3 separate regions of the Homo sapiens genome follow, and all the other regions are linked to region 1. Evidence: promoter capture Hi-C in 16 types of primary human blood cells and fetal thymus (Javierre and others, 2016). All regions are on one chromosome and are shown on one strand. The core of a region is centred on a gene start or on the middle of the fragment in contact, and the rest is flanking DNA. Distances in the headings are between cores, read along the strand shown. Region 1 holds the start of CAMTA1-DT (CAMTA1 divergent transcript). Region 2 holds the start of MTOR (mechanistic target of rapamycin kinase). Region 3 overlaps WRAP73 (WD repeat containing, antisense to TP73).

Region 1 (3,885 bases), core at 441-2,940:
TTAGGAAATGAGCTCGCCCTAACCCAGCAAAGTGTAAGAGTATGCATGATCTGGAAGAAGTGTCTGCTTTCCTATTTAGAAATGACTTCAGAGCTGCACAAGCCCCCACTATCCACTGGGTGAGGAAAGAAGAACATGGGCAGCCTGAGTCCCCTTGTCCTGGCAAAAAGGGTCAACGGAGAGTGTGCAGAGGCCCCAAAAGAATCCAAAGAAGATGAGCAGATCAGACGGACCCCTGTGCCAAGGAAGGATCGGGGTCACGGAAGGTAAAGGGCAAGGGAGTGTGGAGATCCTCACTTGCCATAGAAACGGAGACCCCACCCTCCTGGCTGTGAGGGTGCAAGGGCAAGAGTAGGATGTGAACGACTGCGAGGGGCGGGGATGCTGCGCAGGCCCCCTTCCCTTCCCGGGAAGCGAAGGGGGAGGGGTCACACGAGGCCCTTCGGCCGAGGGACGCTCGGCAGGACGGGGTCCCCCTGGCGGGGAGAAGCTCGGGGACCCCCCGCCCGCTCAGGGAGGTGTCCACGGGGCTGAAGAGGGTGCCGGAGAGAGTACATCTGGCCCTGCCCGCCGGAGAGCAGGGGGCCGGCGAGGGCTGAGCGCCGGCCGCTGCCGCCCGACGGGGACCGGCCCGGAGCAGTGGGGCGCGGGGCCAGGAGGACCCGAGGCGGATAAACTTTCCGCCCCGCGGCCCCCACCGTGGACCCAGCGCCGGGGGTGCGGGGGCCGCGCAGCGGGCTCGGGAGCGGCGGGGATGCCCGGTCCGGGTGGGGGAGGCGCCGGCCCTCCGCCGGCTCCTCCTCCTCGCTGGGCCCGGTCCCCGCCCCGCGAGCCCCCCGCCCCCTCCGGCCCCAGCCCGCCCCCGGGGGTGGGGTGTGGGGCGCCGCGCTCCGCCGGCCCCGCGAGTCACCTCAGGACTCGGCCGCGCTCCGCCCCCCCACCCCGCCGGCCCCCTCCCCGGCCGGGTCGCCCGCCCGCCCGCCCGCCGCGCCCCCGCGCTCCCGCCCGGCGCCGCCGATGCCCGGGATGTCCGGCGGGGCCGGGTCCCGCCGCCCGCCGCGCCGCCCCCCAGCCCCTCGCGCTCCGGCTCTTACCTTCCGGCTTGTTTTCGGCAGCCATTTCCCCTCCGCGCGCCACATCCTCCTCCTCCTCGCGACCGGGACCCCGAGCGCGCGCCTCGTACCGCCGCCGCCGCCGGCCCAGCCACCCCGCCGCCGCCGCGCACCCGCCCTGGCCCCGCCCCGCGGCCCACGCACAGCTCCCGTTGGGCCGTGCGGCTGCCACTCATCGCTCCCGCCGCCAATCGCCCCGCACCAGGGGTCTCACTACTCTCCGGGAGGAGCGTCCTATCCATCCGGCCCATTGGCTGGTCACCACCCAACGGACTGAAAGGATTGGTCAAGAATCAACGCCCCCTCCCCACCCACTCCCAGGAAAGCCCGCCTTCCGGACCTAAACAAAGCTTCCTAGTGGCCAGAACCCGAAAGAACTGTCCAATCAGGACGGGCCCGACACGGAATATTTCCTCGAGGCCGAGACGTGGCGTTTTGATTGGGCGTCACTACAGTGTTTCCCAGGCCGTCCAGACCAATCAAAGGGGGTTCCCGGAACTCGGGAGCGGCGAAGGGAAGCCCCGCCCCCGAGCGTGACCGTCATGAGGAAGGCGCTCCCTCATTGGCACGCTGGGGCTTTTCCCGCGTGCTCCCGGGGCTGAAGGACGTTCCCGGGGAAGCCGCTGCTGGCGCGTGGGGTCCCGGTGGCTGTGGGGGACGCGCCGGGATCTCCGGGATCCCGCAGCCCGCCGCCGCTGCCGGTGGGGAGCCGGACGCGGGGGGCCTCGGGGCTGAGGTCCGCAGGGGTGCCGCGCCCTGGAGTCCGACTGCCTAGGAGTCCGGGCGTCGCTGCCGGCCGTGGGGGAGGGGCGAGCCTCCCGCCAGGCCCCGCCCCCTCGGCGCCGCGTCCCCACGGCCCCGGCGCCGCCCGCCTGCGCCCGCCTCCTGTGCCCGCCCCCGGTGAGCTCCGTTGTCCCCTTTTCTGGCGGCTTAAAATACCGAAACTTTATTTTGGTCACGTTGCCCATGTGACCCGCGGAGCGGATGACTCATGGTTGCCTGTCCCAGGATGAGGCCGCCGGCCGAAAGCAGAGAAGCGCCAGCCCCGGCCGCCCGGGTGGAGCGCTGGGCAGCCGAGTTTCCCACCCTCCTCAATCCGGAGAGTCCGCGCGGGGCTTTTCCTAATAAATAGCCAGGCACCCGCTGCCCTCGCGCTGCGTACGGGAGCACGTGCCCCCCGGGAGGTGGGCGCCCGCCAGGTGCCCCGGGAACGAGCCTAGGAACCGGGTCCGCCGAGTGCGGCTCTCGGGGCGGCTAGGCGTGCGGGTGGCTGGGCAGCGCTCCCAGGGACCGGCCTCTCTCCGGAGAAAGTAAGGAATTCTGCTCCTGGGCAGGTAATACCGGAAACAAAAGGAGAGGCTGCAATCGCAAATTGTTTAAAAAGAAGAAAAAGGAAAGAAAAGTTGAATGTAAGAGCTCCAGCCCCTCAATGTGATCTTGTACGGTTTGCAGTAAGAACATTTCATTCTTCCGCATTTTATTTTTCCTTTTGCTACTGTTGGTGACAACTAGCAAAATAAGTGAAAAATCCTCGTTCAAGTGTTCTGGCATTAAGATTGACTGTCACACTGAATTCTGTGCCAATCCTAACAACATGTGTTCTTTTTCTGGTCTTCACAAGTAAGAATGTCTTAGGTTTTCCAGAAATAAAGATGTCCCAAAAGAATGTTTTGTGTTACACACTCATTCTTCAAGAAACTTTAATTTTATGAGCCTCAAAAATTGCAAAATTTTAACAACGGCGGGACAATATTTTATCGATTAGCATTCTTAATAGCACCTATGTTGACGATTTGTGTGGAGAAACGGATTCTTAAAAGAAGTGCTGGTGGCATTGTAAATTAGTATATTCCTTTCGAAAAGCAATTTTACAGTATGTATTAAAAGCCATAAAAATGTCTGCATCTTTTGACCCAGTGATCTTACTTCTGGGAATCTGTTCTAAGGAAATAACACTAAATGCCAGAAAAGCTGTATGTGTGAAGGTATTCTTCACAGGATCACTGTACTTAACTACAACAAAAAATTGGGAGCATCCTACATGTGCTAATATTGGGTATTTAGTAAATTGTGTTACATCTACACAGTGGAACATTATGGTAGTTGTAGACATCAGAAACAGAAAATCACCCATTGCTAGATAGAGGGGGCAATACCCAAAATTATGGTGTTCATTTATGAGGTGAGATGATAGGCTAAAAAAACTGCATTTTAAAAAAGACCGATACAGGCCGGGTGCAGTGGTTCACGCCTGTCAATCCTAGCACTTTGGGAGGCCAAGGTGGGCAGATCACTTGAAGCCAGGAGTTCGAGACCAGCCTGGCCAGCATGACAAAACCCCGTCTCCACTAAAAATATAAAAATTAGGTGGGCAAGGTGGCAGGCGCCTGAGGTCTCAGCTACTTGGAAGGCTGAGGCAAGAGAATTGCTTGAACCCAGCGGGCAGAGGTTGCAGTGAGCCAATATCGCACCACTGCACTCCAGCTTGGGTGACAAGAGCAAGACTCCACCTCAAAAAAAAAAAAAATAGACTGATAACATACACCAAATAAATGACGTATGGGGGATTATAAGTGAGTTTTTTTTAATTGCCTATTTTCTATAATATAGCTGTTTTTGTTGTTGTTTTTTGGTTTTTTTTTTGTTTTGTTTTTTTGAGATGGAGTTTCACTCTTGTTGTCCAGGCTGGAGTTCAATGGCGCAATCTCGGCTCACCGCAACCTCTGCCTCCCGGGTTCAAGCGATTCTCCTGCCTCAACCTCCAGAGTAGCTG
Region 2 (3,885 bases), core at 1,036-3,535, 4.5 Mb before region 1:
CTGGTCTCAAATGCCTGGGCTCATGCAATCTTCCTGCTTTGGCCTCCCAAAGTGCTGGGATTACAGGTGTGAGCCACCGCACCCAGCCCAACTATCTTTAATTTGGCAGTTTAGACCTTCTGAAAACTCATTTCTTCTACCTTCACTTGTTTTTATTACATAAGTAATTGATAATGTATAAAGAAAAAAAGTGTGTCTTTCCCAAATTACATCTTAGTTGTGCACATTTCCCCCATGTAAACAGAGACATATAAGAAATGCATAAATATTTTTGTAAATGGTTGTATTATACTTACATTGTTGCACAACTTGTAATTTTTAAACTAGTTGTGAACCTTTTCCTTCTTAGCAAATATTCATCTAATTACCACTATTTATTGTTATTATTATTATTTGAGACAGGATCTTTCTCTGCTGCCCAGGCTGCAGTGCAGTGGAGATCACAGATGACTGCAACCTTGAAGTCATAGACTCAAGTGATTCTCGTGCCTCAGCCTTCCAAGTAGCTGGGACTACAGGCATGTGCTACCACACACAGCTAATTTTTAAATTTCTTTTGTAGAGACAAGGGTCTCACTATGTTGCTCAGGCTGGTCTGGAACTCCTGGCCTCAAGCAATCCTGCCTCGGCCTCCCAAAGTGCTGGGATTCCAGGGATGAGCCACCATGCTAGGCTCTAAATTATAATTATTAATGGCTATGTATTTTTCTTATTATGAATGCATCTTTTTTTTTTTTTTTTTTTTTTTTTGAGATGGAGTCTCGCACTGTCACCCCAGCTGGAGCGCAGTGGCGCGATCTCGGCTCACTGCAACCTCCGCCTGCTGGCTTCAAGGGATTTTCCTATCTCAGCCTCCTGAGTAGCTGGCATTACAGGCACCTGCCACCACGCCTACCTTTTTTTTTTTTTTTTTGTATTTTTAGTAAAGACGGGGTTTCACTATGTTGGTCAAGCTGGTCTCAAACTCCTGACCTCATGATCCGCCCGCCTCGGCCTCCCAAAGTGCTGGGATTACAGGTGTGAGCCACCGCGCCCAAACGAATGCATCATATTTTATTGGACTCCTACTTTGAAATATTTAGGAATTTTCAGTGTTTACTATGACAAATAGCACTGTGATTAAAAAAAAATGTAGTCAAATCCACTTTTGCTGTTGATTTTTTTTTTTTTAATCTGTAGAGACATCGTCTCGCTATGTTGCCCAGGCTGGTCTGGAACTCCTGGCCTCAAGCGATCCTCCTGCTTTGGCCTCCCAAAGTGCGTGGGCCACCGTGACCAGCAGTTATTTATTTTCTTTGGTTGTGTGTGTGTGTGTGTGTGTGTGTGTGTGTGTGTGTGTGTATGTATGTATTGAGACGGAGCTTGCTCTGTTGCCCAGGCTAGAGTGCAGTGGCACGATCTCGGTGCATGCAACCTTCACCTCCCGGGTTCAGGCGATACTCGTGCCTCAGCCTCCCGAGTATCTGGGATTACAGGCGTGAGCCACCATGCCCAGCTAATTTTTGTATTTTCAGTAGAGACGGGGGGTGCGGGTGGGGGAATTTCACCATGTTGACCAGGCTGGTCTCGACTCCTGACCTACGGTGATCCGCCTGCCTCGGTCTCCCAAAGTGCTGGAATTATGGGCGTGAGCCACCGCGCCGGGCCAGCTATTGATTTTTTGAAAGGATTTTTAAAAAATAATGTTGCTTTGAAAATTTTTATTTATGACTAGCTCTTTTGGTTAAAACTTGGCTATGGTTTCTCTGGAGTGATCCTGAGTTGGATAATTTTGGGAAAGTTAGAGAATCTAATTAAAAACATTTTCAAATGCTTATTAATTGTAACAAAAGAGATATCACAGGATCCATAAAGAGCGCTAGCCCGAAACGTCTTTTGATGCAGTAATTCCTGGGCACCGGCATCGCTCACATTCTCCTCTCAGAATTACACCGGGAGGGGTCGCGAACCTCTGCTAGCCGCTCTCGCTGCGATCCGGAGATACCCAGACACCGGACTCCTTGAGTTCACAGCCCGGATGCAGAAGGGAATCCTAGCAGCGCCGTACCGGATGTGTGAGTGGAAGTGACTGAGGTGAACTCACGACCGATTGGTTCTCCCGAGTGGACCCAAGCCTGTTTTCACCTGCCACTGGCCGCGTGGTTTGTCTATTTGAACAGTCCCCGCCCCCTGGAGAAGCCGGGTCCTGAAGCTTCTCTTCTTCATTACTATTGGCCTGTTTTTCAGTCCATCTTCTCCCTATACCTGTCGATTGGTCCTCAGGGCTGGGAACCCTCCTTCCCTCGCTCCCGGCTTAGAGGACAGCGGGGAAGGCGGGCGGTGGGGCAGGGGGCCTGAAGCGGCGGTACCGGTGCTGGCGGCGGCAGCTGAGGCCTTGGCCGAAGCCGCGCGGTGAGTCTAGGGCCTGGCACGACCCCTCTAGGGCGGCGTAATGTCCAGACCCACGGCCAGCCTGCCCGTGGGGGGGCCAGGGGAAGCCGCCCGTCTGGGACGTGGGGTCCCCACATTGCCGGCCCCACGACCTGGGCACCGTCTGAGGCCTTGACTCCCACCCCTCGAGGCAACGCCCACCTCCCCGGGACCCCCAAGAGACCCCTGGACCCTTCGGCCCGCGGTACGTCCGCCCGAAGGCCGGCCCATCAGCTCTGGTATTGCCCTTTGGGTCTTTTGCCTGTCACAGCCACCCTTTCTTTTGAGCCACGTATAAAAATTGTGTATCTCTGCCCCAGGGAACACTAGCGTCCGTGTCAGCCCCTTGTCCTCCACTGTGGACACCTCTCAGAGATCCAGTCCCCGAAACTGAGCTTGGTTACATCGTTGGGGTACATCTTCTCTCCCTCTCCCCCAGCCCCATCCCTGTTTCCCCCATCCAATCTTAACTTCCTTAAGCCCTATCAACACCATTAGGATATTTGACTTCAGATATCCTAAGTTTAATTGAATTCAGTCTGGAGCAGATGGCCTGTGGGCCTCAGATCATATAAAGATACACTGGTTCTTTCCTGAGAATAGAAATCCCTTGCCAGCCACCTTCCCCCCTTTCGGACGCACACACATACACACAAACTGGAGTAGTTTTCTTAGCAGGGATTCTTAAGTTTCTTCTCCCCTAAAGGATGACATTTCTTTCTGCAGTCTTCTTCTTGGCAGTGGAGTATTTGAAAGCTTTACAAAACCAATTATTCCCAGGTTTTTCCTCTGTGCCTTACAAATTCTTTCAAAAATAAGAATTTTGAGAAATTGGTTTTGTAGCATAAGCTGAACATACTTGGGATAGGTGTATGTTACACCCATGGCAGTGTGGGCATAATTGAGGAATGAGGGAATGAGCTCAGGAACTAATTGGTGTTTTTTGTTTTGTTTTGAGACGGAGTTTCGCTCTGTCGCCCAGGCTGGAGTGCAGTGGCTCGATCTCTGCTCACTGCAAGCTCCGCCTCCCGGGTTCCCGCCATTCTCCTGCCTCAGCCTCCCGAGTAGCTGGGACTACAGGCGCCCGCCACCATACGGCTAATTTTTTTTTTTTTTTGTATTTTTAGTAGAGGCGGGATTTCACCGTGTTGGCCAGGATGGTCTCGATTTCCTGACCTCGTGATCCGCCCGCCTCGGCCTCCCAAACCCGGCCAGGAACTAATTACTTTCTTTTAGCTTACATTTGAAGAGCTAGTCCCCTGTAGAACTGCGTTGTTCAGTACAAGAACCACCAGCCACATGTGGCTGTGGAGCACTTGAAATGTGACTAGTCCAGGCCGGGCATGGTGGCTCACACCTGTAATCCCAGCACTTTGGGAGGCCAAGGCGGGCAGATCACCTGAGGTCAGGAATTTGAGACCAGCCTGGCCAACATAATAAAACCCCATCTCTACTAAAAACACACAAAAATTAGCC
Region 3 (3,885 bases), core at 682-3,181, 3.1 Mb after region 1:
CTACTTTGTCATCTCTACTTCTCCTCTAATTCTCTTCTCCTCTACCACATGCCGAATAAATGATTTAAATACTAGTATTCTATCCCCAGGTAAGGAAGTAGTTGTCCTCATGGCTGGGATTTGAGGTCTTCGTTCCATGGGTGGCAGAAGGGTGCTTAAATCACAGAGCTATAACTTTAAGCTTCAAAACATATAGTGTATGTACCTGGATGCCTAGTAGTGTATATCCTCAGAAGAGAGGGATAACCCGGATGCCTAGTATGTATGTCCTCAGAAGAGGGGGACAATTGGCATTGGAAAGCCACTAAGAAGAAACATGCCTCGTAAAAAGTGGGCTTCGTTTTCCTTATCCACCACCTGTACTAACTGACTGATGTATCATGATGCTTTTTCAGGTTTTGCCACTCCTGACATTCCTGTGCTCTGTCTAGCTTTTGAGAGTTTAACTCTCAAATTACGTTTTTTACCTCTTCAGGGAGGTTTTATTCCAAATCACATAAAATAGCATCAGCTACAAAACAGAAAACCTCATTAGTTTAAATGGCATCTCAGCCTTGGTATATTTTCAATGTGCCCCCCTCCTCAATTAAATGAGAGGTTTGTTTTTTGTTTTTACCATTTATGAAAATTTCAGTGAATTATAAGGAGAAAGATTACATCTGCTTGCTTAACTTGGGTGTTTTTTTCCAGCTTGTACACTCTGGTCAAAATACCCTGAAACACTTGGTAATGATCTGTTACTGGAATCATCTTCTTGAAAGCCCTGAGGACTGGGGAGAGCAGGTCCATGTTTCTAGTTTTCATATCTTGCAGTAGAGTTTATGTGGTTCCTCAAGGTGTTGGTAAAAATATTCCATTTCATAAGGAATTCACTGTAACTGATCACAGTTTTCAAAGCTACAGTGTGAGAAAGTAAGTGCTGTGGTAGCTCCTTGTTCCAATCTGCCGTCACCCGCCTGTCTCTCTTTTCTCCCACGGAAAACTAACGTGGCTTTCTTTTTTGATATCGGTTCATAAAACACAAACTACTTTGACCTTGATAAGTAAAACTAACGAAGCAGTTAATATTTAAACATCAGTTCTTGATCTTGAAACTGTAGTAAAATATACATTCAGCAGGTGAGTACTCAGGCGTTATTTTTACTTGAAATTGTTTGCTTGGATAGGGACATAATGAACAAATATGGACAAGAAGAAACTATCTTTAAGAAAATAGTACTAACACTTAAACATTTCCCGTTTCGTGTTAGGAATAGGTTAATGGAGATAAATGAGCATTTGCGAAGCATCTTTATGTGTGCAGAAGTGAAAGCCTGTCTTTTGATCTTCTGTTGTTTTGGCTCTGAGTTCGGCACTGCATAAGAAGATTGATGCATTCCTTGCCATTTTCGTTGTCATCTGTGAAGCCTCAATTCTTACCCTTTATAAATTTGAGGAAATTGTCCAAAAGTGTTTATAAAACTAGCAGAGGATTTTGGTTATTAGTTCACAGAAGAGCTTTCTCCCAATGCTACTTCCCATTTAAGTTTAGTTTTTAACATACAGATAAGAAGGGACTTAAAAATGTCTTAAAGCTTTAAGTAGCGAGTTAAAACATACTTTTATACTTTACAATAGAGTATAGCAATATTAAAACCTGGCTTGTATATTTCAACATTACCCTTGTATGAACTGAACTGATCTTTAGGGGCTGGGGATGTCACTGGTGATCTAGACATGAAACCTCTGGCAGGAGAGAAGGCCACAGTCACTGAAGGCCAGGGCAGTAGCATTCCGAAGGCCCCCCTCTTTTGGAGTGGAGAATGTCAGGTGCTTGCTTTCTCATATTTTTTAGGCTTCCTGTGTCCAGTACCGGTTAGTGGTCCGGGATGTGAACACCCTTCAGATCCTTCAGCTGTACACGTGCCTAGACCAGATCCAGCACATCGAGTGGTCGGCAGACTCGCTCTTCATCCTGTGCGCCATGTACAAGCGAGGGCTGGTGCAGGTGTGTGCTGCCGTGTCGCTTAGAATCTGGACACCTTCTGAGGGCCCCTGGGAAGGAGGGGTTTTGTTCTGTGCCTTTCTAGTTTGAAAAAAAAGTCCGTGCAGCTCAAAGCCAGTTTTCTTTTGAAATTATAACGTTCTCTAAAGTTTAAGAACATTTAAACTAAGGAAACTCCAACGTAGTCTTAATTTCTAAGCAATATAGTTGAGAAACGGAGGTGTTGACAGCAATCTAGCCACGCGGATGTGGTGTGTTTCAGGAAGTCCTAAGAAGTCGTGTTTTCTTCTGTGTCCAAAGCTTAACTAAATGAGGTCTTAGGAATGACAATGTGAATAAACAGTTTTAAAACAACAACGAAATGAAATCACCAAGAAGCGTGGCTTACTTTTACACTGGAATCCAGCACCAGCCCTTCATCATGAAAGGTTCTAAAAGACACCCTGTGTGATCGGGTCTCTGCTGGTTTTAAGGGAGTTGTCTCTCGGCGAGGCCTCGCTATAGACTGCTGATGAGTTTGAAGACACCCTGTGCGGTCGGGTCTCCGCTGCGTTTAAGCGAGCTGTCCTCGCTGTCTCTCGGTGCTGATGAGTTTGCACTTGTGTGTTTCTTTCTTCTCTCAATCCAGGTCTGGTCTTTAGAGCAGCCCGAATGGCACTGCAAAATAGACGAGGGCTCAGCCGGGCTGGTGGCCTCGTGCTGGAGCCCGGACGGGCGCCACATTCTCAACACCACGGAATTCCATGTAAGTGTCAGCCCCAAGACACCTTACTGGCCATGTGATCCTGTCCTCTGCTCTCGAAACAGCTGGGGAGTGCGAGAGGGGGTGTGTTTGGAGTATGCTAGTCTCCCCTTATCCTCAGGGGATGCATTCTAAGACCACCAGGGGATTCAGATTGTACCAAACCCTGTATTTCCTGTGTTTTTTCCTATACAGCATACCTGTGATACATTTAATTTATAAATTAGATACAGTAAGAGATTAGCAACAATCATAGTATAGAACAAGGATAACAATATACTGTTTATAATTGCATGGATAGAAGATTTGGTCTTACTGAAGATCTGAGCAACAACCTCAGCATAGGATTTTTTCTTTCCTTGTTGCGTCAAGAACTTTCAGCTCGTCATTTAAAGGAAGCACTTTGTGGCTTCTCTTTGGCGTATCCAGATTGCGAGCCCCACCGCCCGTGCTTTGGGCTGCTACTGAGTCAGATAAGGGTGTCGTGAACACAGGCACTGTCTGCTGCCCTGGGTCTGATGACTGAGGTGGCTCCCGAGTGGCTGGTAGATTGGCGGGGTTGGAGGGAGCCGGGGAGCGTATATAGTGGTGTGTATATTTTAGGTCAGAGCATTATAAGCCACTAAGTATTATTGTCTGATCTTTTGTCCAGTTTTGAAGAAAAAACATTTTAAAAATCTTAATTTAGATTTTTTAGGATTTCGGCACTCCCTTTAATTCAACGATAGAAAATGCGCTGTGATATGAGCCGGCTCGCACCTTTCCTTCAGGAGCCTGGCCTGGGGGCGTGGCTCGGGGCGGTCGGCAGCCGCCCATTCACCTGCTGTAGGTACCGCACAACAGCCTCCGTGCTGAGCTCAGCGCGGAGGGGAATGTTGACATCCGAGAATAAATCAGAGGGATCTGGGATAGGAGACTGCATTTTAAGTTAAAATTAGGCATATGTCAAGTGTTTAGATACCAGGTCTTTGGTGTCCGCAGTGTCTTTTTAAGATACAGAAAAATGGACGAATTCCTTTAATAATGTGCTTTTCTGATGGAGTTGGATCCCAGTGTTTGGGCCCAAGTCCACTGAGTGCTCATAGCTGTCTGGGCTGCTGGCTGCACCTCGGTAACCCGCCCATCCCGCTGCGCCGCGCACACCACGGGGCAACCCGCC

The links. Contacts are between HindIII fragments. The CHiCAGO score rates a contact against its expected background, and 5 or more counts as called.
Region 2: a contact is called between the fragment with the promoter of MTOR here and the fragment with the promoter of CAMTA1-DT in region 1, in 3 of 17 cell types (monocytes, total B cells and total CD8 T cells). The highest score is 11.1, in monocytes.
Region 3: a contact is called between a fragment that was not itself captured here and the fragment with the promoter of CAMTA1-DT in region 1, in 1 of 17 cell types (neutrophils). The highest score is 6.1, in neutrophils.

The regions. Positions count from the first base shown.
Region 1 is chr1:6,782,785-6,786,669 of GRCh38, reverse strand. It overlaps CAMTA1-DT (CAMTA1 divergent transcript), which reads left to right and starts at 1,690. Exons shown (of 3, transcript NR_149049.1): 1 at 1,690-2,012; 2 at 2,447-2,521; 3 at 2,625-2,778. CAMTA1 (calmodulin binding transcription activator 1) reads right to left here and starts at 1,216. Exons shown (of 23, transcript NM_015215.4): 1 at 1,095-1,216. The coding sequence starts at 1,139. RefSeq lists silencers at 464-643, 654-923, 1,134-1,293, 1,634-2,043, 2,174-2,233 and 1 more and enhancers at 1,499-2,173, 2,174-2,850. The HindIII fragment of the contact is 4,377 bases long and covers 1,465-3,885 here.
Region 2 is chr1:11,260,951-11,264,835 of GRCh38, reverse strand. It overlaps MTOR (mechanistic target of rapamycin kinase), which reads left to right and starts at 2,285. Exons shown (of 58, transcript NM_004958.4): 1 at 2,285-2,391. RefSeq lists an enhancer at 1,938-2,097 and a silencer at 2,518-2,567. The HindIII fragment of the contact is 974 bases long and covers 2,194-3,167 here.
Region 3 is chr1:3,645,510-3,649,394 of GRCh38, reverse strand. It overlaps WRAP73 (WD repeat containing, antisense to TP73), which reads left to right. Exons shown (of 12, transcript NM_017818.4): 2 at 1,835-1,987; 3 at 2,613-2,729. Among named protein-coding and RNA genes, the nearest start is that of WRAP73, 2.7 kb to the left of the region's middle. The HindIII fragment of the contact is 710 bases long and covers 1,577-2,286 here.